3 separate regions of the Homo sapiens genome follow, and regions 1 and 2 are each linked to region 3. The links are contacts of gene promoters, found by promoter capture Hi-C in blood cells and fetal thymus (Javierre and others, 2016). All regions are on one chromosome and are shown on one strand. Each heading gives the region's core, a stretch centred on a gene start or on the middle of the fragment in contact. The rest is flanking DNA. Distances are from core to core; before and after follow the strand shown. Region 1 holds the start of MAGOH (mago homolog, exon junction complex subunit). Region 2 holds the start of CZIB-DT (CZIB divergent transcript). Region 3 holds the start of FAF1 (Fas associated factor 1).

Region 1 (3,791 bases), core at 1,251-3,750, 2.3 Mb before region 3:
CATTGTATCCTCTCTGCACATGACACTCAGTGGATGCTCAAATAAATGATGCTGAATGCAGGCACTGCAGACACACAGACCATGCTCTTTCAGTTACACCATGTCTCATATCCAGAAACCTGGATTACTTCACAGCCTGACTGGAGTTGTGTGTCCTTTAAATTTCTCAACACTTTTGTTATTTGCCACATCTGAAGATCCCCAGATTCACTTATGATTTTTATAATTTTACTCCTGGAAAATAACCTTGTAGCAATTGCTTAATCCCTCTACATACTTAACTCTAATTACCACCTCAAGATTGTTGTGATGATTCAAAGAACAAGCACAGGTAATCCCATTGACCCTAGGGGCTGACATTTATTAGGTGCTTGATACCTGGTCCCTTTTCTTTTTTTCTCTTTTTTTTTTTTTTTGAGACAGGGTCTTGCTTTGTCACCCAGGCTGGAGTGTAATGGTGTGATCATGGTTCCCTACAGCCTCGACCTCCCAGGCTCAAATTATCCTCCTACCTCAGCCTCCCAAGTAGCTAGGACTACAGGTGTGCACCACCACACCTACCTATTTTTTAAATTTTTTGTAGAGACAGTCTCCTATGTTGCCCAGGCTGGTCTCAAACTCCTGGGCTCAAGTGATCCTCCTGCCTCAGCCTCCCAAAGTGCTGGGACTACAGGTATGAGCCACTGTGTCTAGCCCCCTTCTCGTTTATACAATTCCCTTGTTACCACCCATATCCAGTGTTTTGTAATAAAAATGTCTTATGGTTTTACAGCAATTTAGTTTCCGAGACATTGTTTCTTACAACAGTTCTGCTAGGTGTACATTATTATGCTCATTTTAAAGAGAAGGAAACTGAAGTCTAAAAAGTTGAGTCGGTTCACCTTTGGTTACAATGAGTCATTGTTACACAGGGATTATTTTAACCTGTGTCCAGTGATTTTTCCCCCACCACACCTACTCTACACTCTGCTGCTAATGCTTTTGCAGGGAGAAAAGGACTCCGTGTTAAGACTGAGGGCCGGGCGCGGTGGCTCATGCCTGTAATCCCAGCACTTTGGGAGGCCGAGGCAGACGGATCGCCTGAGGTCGGGAGTTCGAGACCAGCCTGGCCAACATGGTGAAACCCCGTCTCTACTAAAAACAGAAAATTACAAAAATTAGCTGGACATGGTGGCGCATGCCTGTAATCCCAGCTACTTGGGAGGCTAAGGCAGGAGAATCACTTGAACCCAGGAGTTTGAGACCAGCGTGGGCAACATAGGGAGACTTTGCCTCTACAAAAAGTTTAAAAATTAGGTAGGCGAGGTTGCGGTGAACTGAGATCACTCCATTGCACTCCAGCCTGGGCAACAAGAGCGAAACTCCGTCTCAAAAAGAAAAGACTGGGAATAGGAATCAGAGACTGCTGTCCCAACTTACAGAATCGTATACAGTTCTAGCCGCCAGGACCCAAGAATGATGTCATCTCGGCACTGTCTCTAGAACCATTCATTCTTTCTAAGCCTGGAACTTAGATGAGTGAAAGCAGGTTCCTATTACATAATTATGATCTTGATTGCCCTGGGCCTACTCAACTGTAAATTTTTTCCAGAGCCAGAAAGGCTTCACAGAGGACAACTTTACCCTGAAAAGAAAGGACCTCTTTGGTCAGTGGTCCTCAACTCTGACTCACCTGAAAGCTTTACAAAAAGTACCAATGCCCAGGTCCAGCGCTGGAGATTTTAACTGGCTTGGGGTAGAGCCCTGGCATCAGTATTTTTAGAGGCTTCCCAAGTGATTGCAATGTGCAGCCAGGCAGAGAATTACTGCTCGGTAAGTGGGATGACTGGGGAGTGGGAGATCAAATACTCTAACGTCTCCCAGCACCTATTCTAGAGATCAGTGGGGCAGAAAGGTAGAAATAAAAGGTGGAAAGGGATGAAATGGGTAAGTGTGGGTGAATTAGTTCCAGGAAAACGGCAATCTCCACTGTGGATTCAGGGAAGGCGTCACTGAGGAGGGCTTTCTTAACAGTTCAGGTCAGTGGAAGCCAACTTGAGGCACACATCGTGCGCGGCATCCTCCGGGGAGGTCGGGTCATTTCACCCCATTTTACTGCCGAGATGACCTAGGTCCAGAGACGGTAAAGAGCGGTGTACGACTCACACAAGTCGGGGGTCCTGTGAACCGAGGTTGAGCCTGGCGGGCCTTCGGCCCGAGGTCTTTAAGCGAAGTCACCAGACCCGGGGTTCAAAGCCCAGAGGTAGGCAGGCGGCTGGCTCTCCGCCTCAGGCCTGGAGAGAACCCAGGGGTATGAACCTCAACCTCGCTCCCGCGTCCAGCTGGAGGGGCGGAGCTGGCTGGCCCCGCCTCCGGGTTAAACAAAGTTCTTTACAGACTAGGCGTGAGGGGATGTTGCAGTCTTGTTGCCACTTCCGGGCGAAGAGGTTAGCGAGAAGGAACCCCTCCACGCAGCGACGACGGGACCTGACGTCACTTCCGCGCGCCGCCGCAAACGTCAGTGTCGGGCGCAGACGGCGGCAGTGCGGCTTGCTCTTGGAAGTTCAGGCTCGGTTGTCTTTTGGGAGCCATGGAGAGTGACTTTTATCTGCGTTACTACGTGGGGCACAAGGGCAAGTTCGGCCACGAGTTCCTGGAGTTTGAGTTTCGACCGGACGGTAAAAGCAGCCTGCCGCCCGCCGGGAGCGGGGACCAGGCCTGGGGGCCGGCGAGTGGGGAGGCCGAGGGTCGGAAATCTGTGGGGAACTAGAGGAGGGAGGGACTGAGACCTGTGCAGTGCAGATCTTAAAGGAACGCCACTGTGTCTGCTCCACGGGGTCTTTCTATCCATTCAGCAAACGTTGACTGAACGCCCACTGTGTGCCAGGCTCTGTTCCACTCTTTGGGAATACGGCAGCGAAGGTAGACAAACTTCCCCTCTCGTGGAACTTGTGTTTTACTGCCGGGAGAGAGATCATAAACAAAAAGATGATTCCAGATAGCAGTGAGTGGTCAAAAAATAACATGGTAGAATAATTGCTGGATGGGCTGCTTTTAGATAGGTTGGCCATTAGAGAGCTCTCTGTAAAGGGTATATTGCAGCCGAGTCCTAATTAACAAGAAGGGCTCAGCCTTGTGAAGCTCATAAGGAAGACCATTCTACACAAAGGGAATACCAGATGTCAAGGCTGCAGGGCGGGAATGAGCTAGGCGTGTCTCAGGTGGTCAGTGTGGTTGAAGAGTGGTGAGCTGGGAGATAGCAGGAGATGATGTCGGATAGGTAGGTAGGAGCGGCACCTCTTAGGTCTTTATAGACCACGGTAAAAAGTTTGGACTTGGAAGGCCTTTTTTTTTTTTTTTTTTTTGAGACGGCTTTCGCTCTTTTTGCCCAGGCTGGAGTGCAATGGCGCGATCTCGGCTTATTGCAACCTCCGCCTCCCGGGTTCAAGTGATTCTCCTGCCTCAGCCTCCCGAGTAGCTGGAATTATAGGCGCCCACCACCACGCCCGGCTAATTTTGTATTTTTAGTAGAGACGGAGTTTCACCATGTTGGCCAGGCTGGTCTCGAACTCCTGACCTCAGGTGATACGCCCGCCTCGGCGTCCCAAAGTGCTGGGATTACAGGTGTGAGCCACCGCGCCCGGCCGGGCTTGGAAGGTTTTAAGCAGAGAAGAAATGTGATCTCTTCTTGAAAAAGCATTCTGGTTATTGGGTGCGGAATGGGCAAGAGTGGAAACAGGGCTATTGATTAGGAGACTGTTGCAGTTGTCAAGACACGAAAGATGTTGGGGGCCGGGCGCGGTGGCTCAAGC
Region 2 (3,949 bases), core at 1,132-3,631, 2.3 Mb before region 3:
TTTATTTTACTGTGGCTGAGCTGGTACCCAAGTTGCAAGACCAACTCCTTTTTAACTCTTTCCTCTCTTTTCCTTAAGCAGAAGGAGTCTCTCCCTGTGGCAACCATTACTGGGAAGGCACTGGGTCACACCTGAAGGCAGCACAGTACTGGGCCTCACCCAGTACTGTGGCTATTACAAATGTTTATTCAAGGCCCAACAGCTCTTTAGTCAGCAGGTGATGAATCCTGCCAGGACTGGGTCCTTTCCTTCAAAGCAGCGGGTTCCCTTCTGGCCCATGGTAGCTCTAGAAATATCTGGGAGATAGAGCCTGGCAAGGGGGCTTCGGGACTCTGCGTGGTGTTTTATTCTACTGTGGCTGGGATGGTATCCAAGCTGTAAGACAAAGTCCTCTTTACTTTCCCCTCTCCTTTCCTCTAAGGGAAAGGAGTCTCTCCTGGAGCCGTGAGCTGTGCTGCCTGGGGTTGGGGGACTGGTGACATAAACACTCCTTTGGCTCCCCAACTGGTATCTCACTAGGCTGTGTGCACCCCAAGTCCACGGGCTCTGAGCTCAGCACAGCACCAGGACTTGCCCAGGAATTGCAGTCTTTGTGGCCTAGACTGCCTTTCGAATTTATTTAGGACCCTGAAGCACTTTAGCCAGTGGTGGTGGGGCTCGCCAGAACCTGACCACTGGGATGGATGATTCCCCTCTGGCTAGGGTTTCTCTAAGTGCTTCCTCTGTGGGCACTAGCTGAATTCTGCCCTGAGTTGCTTTCCACTGTGACAGGGCAAAACTCAGTTCCAATGCAAAGTCCCATAAGCACACAGATTCTCTCTCTATGCCAGGCAGCCAGGTGCTGCCAGAGGATGAGGGAGGGGTGGTGGTAGCAATTCAAGACTGTCTTTCCTACCCTCTTCATTGCCTTGTTCCTTTTTTTTTCTTCTTTTATGAGATAGAGTCTCACTCTGTCACCCAGGCTAGAGTGCAATGGCATGATCTCAGCTCACTACAACCTCCACCTCCCGGGTTCAAACAATTCTCCTGCCTTAGCCTCCGGAGTAGCTGGGACTACAGGTGTGCACTGCCATACTCGGCTGATTTTTGTATTTTTAGTAGAGACAGGGTTTCACTATGTTGGCCAGCTAGGTCTCAAACTCCTGACCTCAGGTGGTCTGCCCGCCTCAGCCTCCCAAAGCACTGGGATTACAGGTGTGAGCCACCGCACCCAGCCATTGCCTTATATCTTGATGTGACGTTACAACCAGCTACTGTGATTGCTACCTGAGTTTTGGTTCTCATGAAGGTGCTTTCTTGTGTGGATAGTTGTTCAGTTTGGTGTTCCTGCCAGGGAAGAGGAGGAGGAGGATCACTGGAGGGTTCTATTTGGCTATCTTGCCCCACCTCCTAGAAGAGTCTTGAATGTGCTGTTCCTTTTACCGTTAATCTCCACAGCTCCTGCATGGTCTCAGATGTAGCCTGGACAGGAGGCCAGGTAAAATAAAGTTCAATAAACGTTATGAGAGAAGGATAAGCCAGGTGGGCTCCCAAAAAAGAGCCAGCTGAAGGGGAATGTCCAGTCGCAAGGACCACAGTGAGAAGGATGTGGACACAGGGCAAACTCTGGAGAAGGGCCTAGAAACCAGGTCTCTTGGGTGAAACAGGAAAGGGCAGTTTGAAGAAAGGCATCATCCCCAAATCTGATAAACCAATACATTCTACTTTTTAAAGCGTATTGGTTTATCTTTATTTGGCAGTCTTGGAACTCTTCCTTTTGTAGCTTTTCCCCTGGGCAGAGGGAGCTGACGTGATCTGAGAAGTTCCAGGGCAGGCAGAGTAGTGAAGAGCCTGGAAAGAACTGAGGGTCAGGAACTGTCCTGTTCGCTTAAAGCAGGCACAAAATTGGCGTTCAGTAACTGTCTGTGGCACCACCGAATCCTGGAGTCAGGCTTCCGCTGGCCTGAGCACAGGTTGCTCGCGGACCTGGCTGACCTCCACTGGCCCCAGATCCCCAGATGCGAAAAGCCCAGTGGGCCAGGCGAGCAGCGGCGCGCAGAAGTCCCTGCCCCGCGGCCCGGCCCCGGCCCCGCCCTACTGAGGGTGCGCAGACGGCACCCGCCTTTTACGACGCGCCGGAAAGCAACGGCAAGGGCCGCAGCCAGCACCGGGCGGAGAGGGCTACCATGGGGGTGAGGGGAGGCCGCCCGCCGCGGGGACACGGAGGGGAGGTGGCGAGGGTCTGGGAGGCAACAGCTCGCGCCAGGAGGAGATGAAGCGAGTGGGTGCGCGCTGAAGGAGCAGGAGGCAGAAGGAGTGTCTCCCTGTGGCACCCACGGCTGGGAATGCGGGAGGGTCGGGCAGGCGTGGGGCTGCGCAGGCACGGCTGACGCAGTCGCTCTGGCCCTCCCCCTCAGAAAATCGCGCTGCAACTCAAAGCCACGCTGGAGAACATCACCAACCTCCGGCCCGTGGGCGAGGACTTCCGGTGGTACCTGAAGGTGCGGCCGGGGCGGGGCCCGGGGAGAGGAGGCCCGTCCTGATCTCAGTGCTGAACCGGAGCCTTCTCTCCGGCAGTATGAGAAAATATTTAACCAGGCACATTAAGTGTTCGGGGTTTTCCTAGTTAGAATTTTACGTTTGCTTTCTATTAAAGTGTATTGGTTTATCTCTAATTGGCAGTCTTGGAAAGCTTCATTTTGTAGTTCTTCCCTGTGTTAAATATTTCGTGGTCTGTAAATGGACACTAAACGAAATGCTACTTGAAGGGACGCTTGTGATTATTTAATAAGGTGAATAGTTCGCCTTTCGTTTATTGATTTGGTTTTCTTTATTGTGAAATAGTTTAATTTTGTGCGTAATCCACCCTTCCTTAGCCCTCCCACACTGGTAAAGCTGGTACCCTAGTGGCATGGTCTACAGAGGCCTCCCCTTCCCCAGCAGTTCGAGGCTCTTCACTCTTCCAGATCCCAGAGCTTCTGCTCTGTTTTACTCCTGGTCAAAAATCCCAGCATCCTTCTGTACCTCTCAAAAGCCCTGTTTTTCGGGAAGCTGCCTCCGGACTACTTTTGTTTCCCAGGATTTTGAAGCCTGAATACCAGGGCTTACTTGGGAGAATCTGTTCTTTGGCTTGAAGAAGCGGAATCGAGTGAAGGAGACAGAAAAATAGAGTAACAATAGAGTGATAAGTGCTTATACCAGTGACATACAGGGCCTGTGGGAACATAAAGCTAACCAAGCAGAGTGGGTCGGGGGCCTGCTGAGGCCATTTCTCTTTTTTTTTCTTAATTGACACAGAATTGTACATATTTATGGGGTATATAGTGATGTTCCGATAAATGTAATGTATTGTGATCAGATCAAGGTAGTTAGCATATTCACCTCAAACGTGTATCATTTCTTTGTGTTGGGAGCATTTAATATCCTAGCTATTTGAAACTATATATTATTGTCAGCTATAGTCATCCTACAGTGCTATAGAACACTAGAACTTATTCCTCCCATATAGCTGTAATTTTGTATCTTCTAACAAATCTCTCCATATTCCCCCCCCTCACCTCCGCTGAAACCATTTCTGCACCACAGGTGCCTTGAATCCCCGGCCACACTGAGCACTTCATAGAGGAGGGTGGGCACGCCGGCATAGGAAACAGCCTTACCTATCCTTTGCCCAGAGATAGTTCTAGTTTTGTCCTTGTTGGGGCAGGTGTTAGGGATGAAGTGAGATTGCCATCAAGAAGGTAGATCATGAGCCTGCCCACCTCCCACTGTTCTTACCCTTTCCTTGGTGTCTGTGCAGCAGAGCCAGCTGCTTTACTAACATTCTTTTTCCCCAAAGATGAAATGTGGCAACTGTGGTGAGATTTCGGACAAGTGGCAGTACATCCGGCTGATGGTAACTGTTCCCCGCCCAACCCCCAACATAAACACTCACAAACACACATACACTTCTGGGCAGGGATTTGGGGAA
Region 3 (3,791 bases), core at 982-3,481:
GGCAACTGAATTGCCACATTTATATTATTGGTGCTGTGTTTTGCCTCATGATTCACATTTGTGCTGACTTTTGGAATTACTTTCTTTTTAAAAAAATATTTATTTATTTATTTTGAAACAGTTTTACTCTGTCACCCAGGCTGGGGTGCAGTAGTGTGATCTTGGTTCACACTGCAACCTCCACCTCCCAGGTTCAGGTGATTCTCCTCCCTCAGCCTCCCTAGTAGCTGGGACTACAGGCATATGCCACCATGCCCAGCTAATTTTTGTATTATTTTTAGCAGAGATGGGATTTCACTATGTTGGCCAGGCTGGTCTTGAACTCCTGACCTCAAGTGATCTGCCTGCCTCGGCCTCCCAAAGTGTTGGGATTATAGGCATAAGCCACTGCCCTGGCCATGGAATTATTTTCTTACGGCTGAAAATTAAGCAAGACATTTTGATTCATGTGACTGTGGAGGGTTCTATTATCTAGCTAATTCTGGTCTAAACACAGATTAGTACTTAAGAACTGTAGGCCAGCCTATTTTCATTTAAGGAAACACACAGAATAAACTCAGATCATAATACAGTGCACTTCTTTATATTCAGTGAAACTGAACAATTAGGTCATATTTCTGATTTCTCATGAATATATTCCCAGTTTATGGAGCCTAGGCCTTGCTGGGTGTGGTGGTATGGCTCACACCTGTAATCCCCACTCTCAGGAGGCTGAGGTGGGAGGATGGCTTGAGCACAGGAGTTGGAAGCCAGCCTGGGCAACATAGTGAGGCCCTGTCTCTAAAAAAGTAAATAAATGATACAAGTTTAAAAAGTTCTTAAGGGAAGCCTAGGCCTTCATGCTACATGATGATTTCACTAGTTATTTTAGCTCTACAGGATAAAATCAGCAATCTTACTTCACATTTTCAAGCTTTTACATACTTTCCAAAGCAAGTAAATGCCCCATGACAATCCAGAAGCTGATATTTTCCCAAGTCAAGGATGAACAACTTCCACTGTCACACTTTCTCTAACCTGGACGACAATTACAAACTGTCACACTTCATTGTACATAGTCTTTGGCTGTTTTAGTTACAGAGGTTGTCAATTTCTGACCATGGGTTGAAACTTTCAATATTTGGTGAATATTCCAAAATAATTTCTTATGAAAATGAATAGGCCGGGTGCAGTGGCTCACGCCTGTAATCCCAACACTTTGGGAGGCCGAGGAGGGCGGATCACGAGGACAGGAGTTCGAGATCAGCTTGCCCAACATAGTGAAACCCCGTCTCTACTAAAAATACAAAAAAAACTTAGCCGGGCTTGGTGGCGGGAGCCTGTAATCCCAGCTACTATGGAGGCTGAGGCAGGAGAATCGCTTGAACCCAGAAAGCGGAGGTCGCAGCGAGCCGAGATCGCGCCACTGCACTCCAGCCCGGGCCACAGTGCGAGACTCCGTCTCAAAATAATAAATAAATAAATAAATAAATAAATAAATAAAAATAGACTGACTATATTCAAAGCTGGATTCAAGTTTTATCCCATTTGTAAGATGTCTCAGCTTAAAAAAACAAATATAACTGCAGCAGTAGAAAGGTTTTCCCTTTTTTCCCCCTTTGGAGCAACCCTATTAACTCGAGGTTGTTATTTCTCATAACTACCTTATCAATTAAAAAAAATGCTCCTCCTCTTCTCTGGAACGAGATTTTTACCTTTCTCAGCTTCCTCGTCTCTCCCATGTCTACCATGGCAGTCTGGTTACTTCTGTGTTACGGAGTCTGAGGATGCAGACGTCAGGGAGCTTGGGACTGGGTGTGACAGTGTGGATTCGGTTTTGACAGGTTGAGCGTGAGAGACTATATGAAGCTGTATTTTGCTGAAACATTGTAGAGAAAAACATATATTTCTGAAATGCTGTTTGTTAGACGAGTTGTAACAGTGTGTTTAGTTGGTTTGTGAGGGTGGTGTGTATTTGTGTGACTAACCACGTGAGGTGCACAATCTGGTCCCCGCCTCAGCTAGGGGGAGGCGCTATCCTGAGGCCTTTGCTTAAATCCAAACTGGAATAACCTGTTGCGAGACTTGAAGCTTCCGCAGCTGCAGGTTGCAGTCTCTGCCGCCAGCGCAGAGATCCTGGCCGGGTAGTCGCGCGCTCAGCGCTTGACAGGAGGGTGGTCACGTGGAGCCGCAAAGCGGCGCTTTGCGACCTCGATGACAGGCAAAATGTGCGACAGCCGTGGCGCTGGCCAACCAGGGGCGGAGGCGGCGGCCAGGGAGGAAGCGGAGGAGGCGGAGGCGGCCGCGGCGTTCGCCCGCCCGCTCGCTCGCTCGGTTTCCCCGCCCCCGCCGGGCTTAACGCCGCTGAAGGTATCCGGGTGCGCGCTGTCGCAACCTGCCCTCATCCTGGCCCGCGACTGTAAGACCGGACCCACATCCAGACCAATCTTCCTGTCCGGGCTGCTGCGACGCGGGCTCCGCAGGTTGCAGGCGGGCGGCCGGGGCGCCTGAAGGTTACCGAGTGCATGAGCGCCTAGCGCTTCCCGCGCTGCCCCGCCCGCTGGCCCGCCGACCCGCCCGCCGGCTCGCCCGCCAGCCCCTCGGCGCCCGGCGGCGGCGGCGGCGGTGGCGGCGACGGTCGCAGGAGGTGCCGTCTGCCTCCCAGGTGCGCGCTTCGCTCCCGGAGCCGCGGAACTCGGCGGCCGCCATGGCGTCCAACATGGACCGGGAGATGATCCTGGCGGATTTTCAGGTGAAGTATCTGGCCCTCTTCCCCTCCCACTTCCAACCTCGTGGGTTTCCGGTGCCACAAGGGAGTCTTCTTCCCAGCGTTTGAACGCTGCAGTGGTGTGTCATTTAGGCTTTTATACGGTGCGTGGCGTGTGTGTGTGTGTGTGGCGAGCTATGGAGAAGCGTATAATTTATATGCTATCATGAGTGTGTAGAATGTGTTAAGTACGGGTTGAATGGGATTGGAGGTATTAATGACTTGGGTTACAATGTGTGTGGAATGTGTAGTGTTTCCTGTATTATATGGGGGGACGTGTAGAGTTTTTGTTTTAATTGGTGTTGGACCATTAAGTATGGGATGTTTTGGGTGGTTCTGTGGGGAGAGATGTATGGAGTGTGAGCGTGGAGCGTGTGGTGTTATGGGCGTGGTGTATTTATATTGTATTAAGGGAAGAGTAAAAAAGCAGAATGATGAGATGGCGAGGGCAATGACAATGGGGTACTGAGGTCCTTTTCAAAGAGGAGTAAACATTTGAGACTTTGCCTAATTGGAATCTTTGGAGGGTAAGAAGATAACAAGGAGACAGATAAGACTATATATTCCAGAGTATCTCTGCAATGAATTCACAAGCTTAATAAATTACCTATTCATATTTGCGGATTCCCCTCCCCTACAGACTTGAATTGCTTGGTTGGTGTCCTTTCTCCAGGAATACTTTAAAGGATAAGTAAAGGCTGTTCTCTTAATAAACCCAGTCGTAGTGCCACTGACATGTAAGTATCTTAGGAAGGCCCTTTGAAAGTAGAACTGTATGCATTGTGAAAGACTTGGAGCTAGAACTAATATCCTGTGAGTGCTACCTTTGCCTTTTGATGTTTGGTGAAGGAATTATTTTAGTGAGATATTTTTGGCCATTTTGGCATCAACTTAGAAGCTACTGTCAAGTATAGGCAGACTTTTCCCTCTTTTTTAATACTCACATTGCACAGGTTCTAACACTAGCTTAGTAGGCAGTATTTTTCCTTGCTGAAATTTTGTTGGGCTTTTCTCTCTCTCTGTTCTATTAAGTTCCTTATTTTTT

Evidence for each region. Contacts are between HindIII fragments. The CHiCAGO score rates a contact against its expected background, and 5 or more counts as called.
Region 1: the fragment with the promoter of MAGOH here is called in contact with the fragment with the promoter of FAF1 in region 3 in 2 of 17 cell types (neutrophils and non-activated CD4 T cells); the score reaches 6.9 in neutrophils.
Region 2: the fragment with the promoter of CZIB-DT here is called in contact with the fragment with the promoter of FAF1 in region 3 in 2 of 17 cell types (neutrophils and fetal thymus); the score reaches 6.5 in neutrophils.

What each region holds. Positions count from the first base shown.
Region 1 is chr1:53,237,227-53,241,017 of GRCh38, reverse strand. MAGOH (mago homolog, exon junction complex subunit) reads left to right here and starts at 2,500. Exons shown (of 5, transcript NM_002370.4): 1 at 2,500-2,657. The coding sequence starts at 2,570. MAGOH-DT (MAGOH divergent transcript) reads right to left here and starts at 2,408. Exons shown (of 3, transcript NR_038953.1): 1 at 1,673-2,408. RefSeq lists enhancers at 2,489-2,618, 2,659-2,718, 2,206-2,847. The HindIII fragment of the contact is 5,872 bases long and covers 1,682-3,791 here.
Region 2 is chr1:53,218,792-53,222,740 of GRCh38, reverse strand. It overlaps CZIB-DT (CZIB divergent transcript), which reads right to left and starts at 2,381. Exons shown (of 1, transcript NR_185918.1): 1 at 1-2,381. It overlaps CZIB (CXXC motif containing zinc binding protein), which reads left to right and starts at 2,107. Exons shown (of 8, transcript NM_017887.3): 1 at 2,107-2,171; 2 at 2,397-2,480; 3 at 3,818-3,874. The coding sequence starts at 2,166. RefSeq lists silencers at 1,776-1,835, 1,966-2,335 and an enhancer at 2,205-2,706. The HindIII fragment of the contact is 4,059 bases long and covers 1-2,673 here.
Region 3 is chr1:50,958,707-50,962,497 of GRCh38, reverse strand. FAF1 (Fas associated factor 1) reads left to right here and starts at 2,231. Exons shown (of 19, transcript NM_007051.3): 1 at 2,231-2,731. The coding sequence starts at 2,687. It also overlaps a transcript of CDKN2C not described here. RefSeq lists silencers at 2,265-2,424, 2,535-2,584 and an enhancer at 2,895-2,944. The HindIII fragment of the contact is 1,270 bases long and covers 2,073-3,342 here.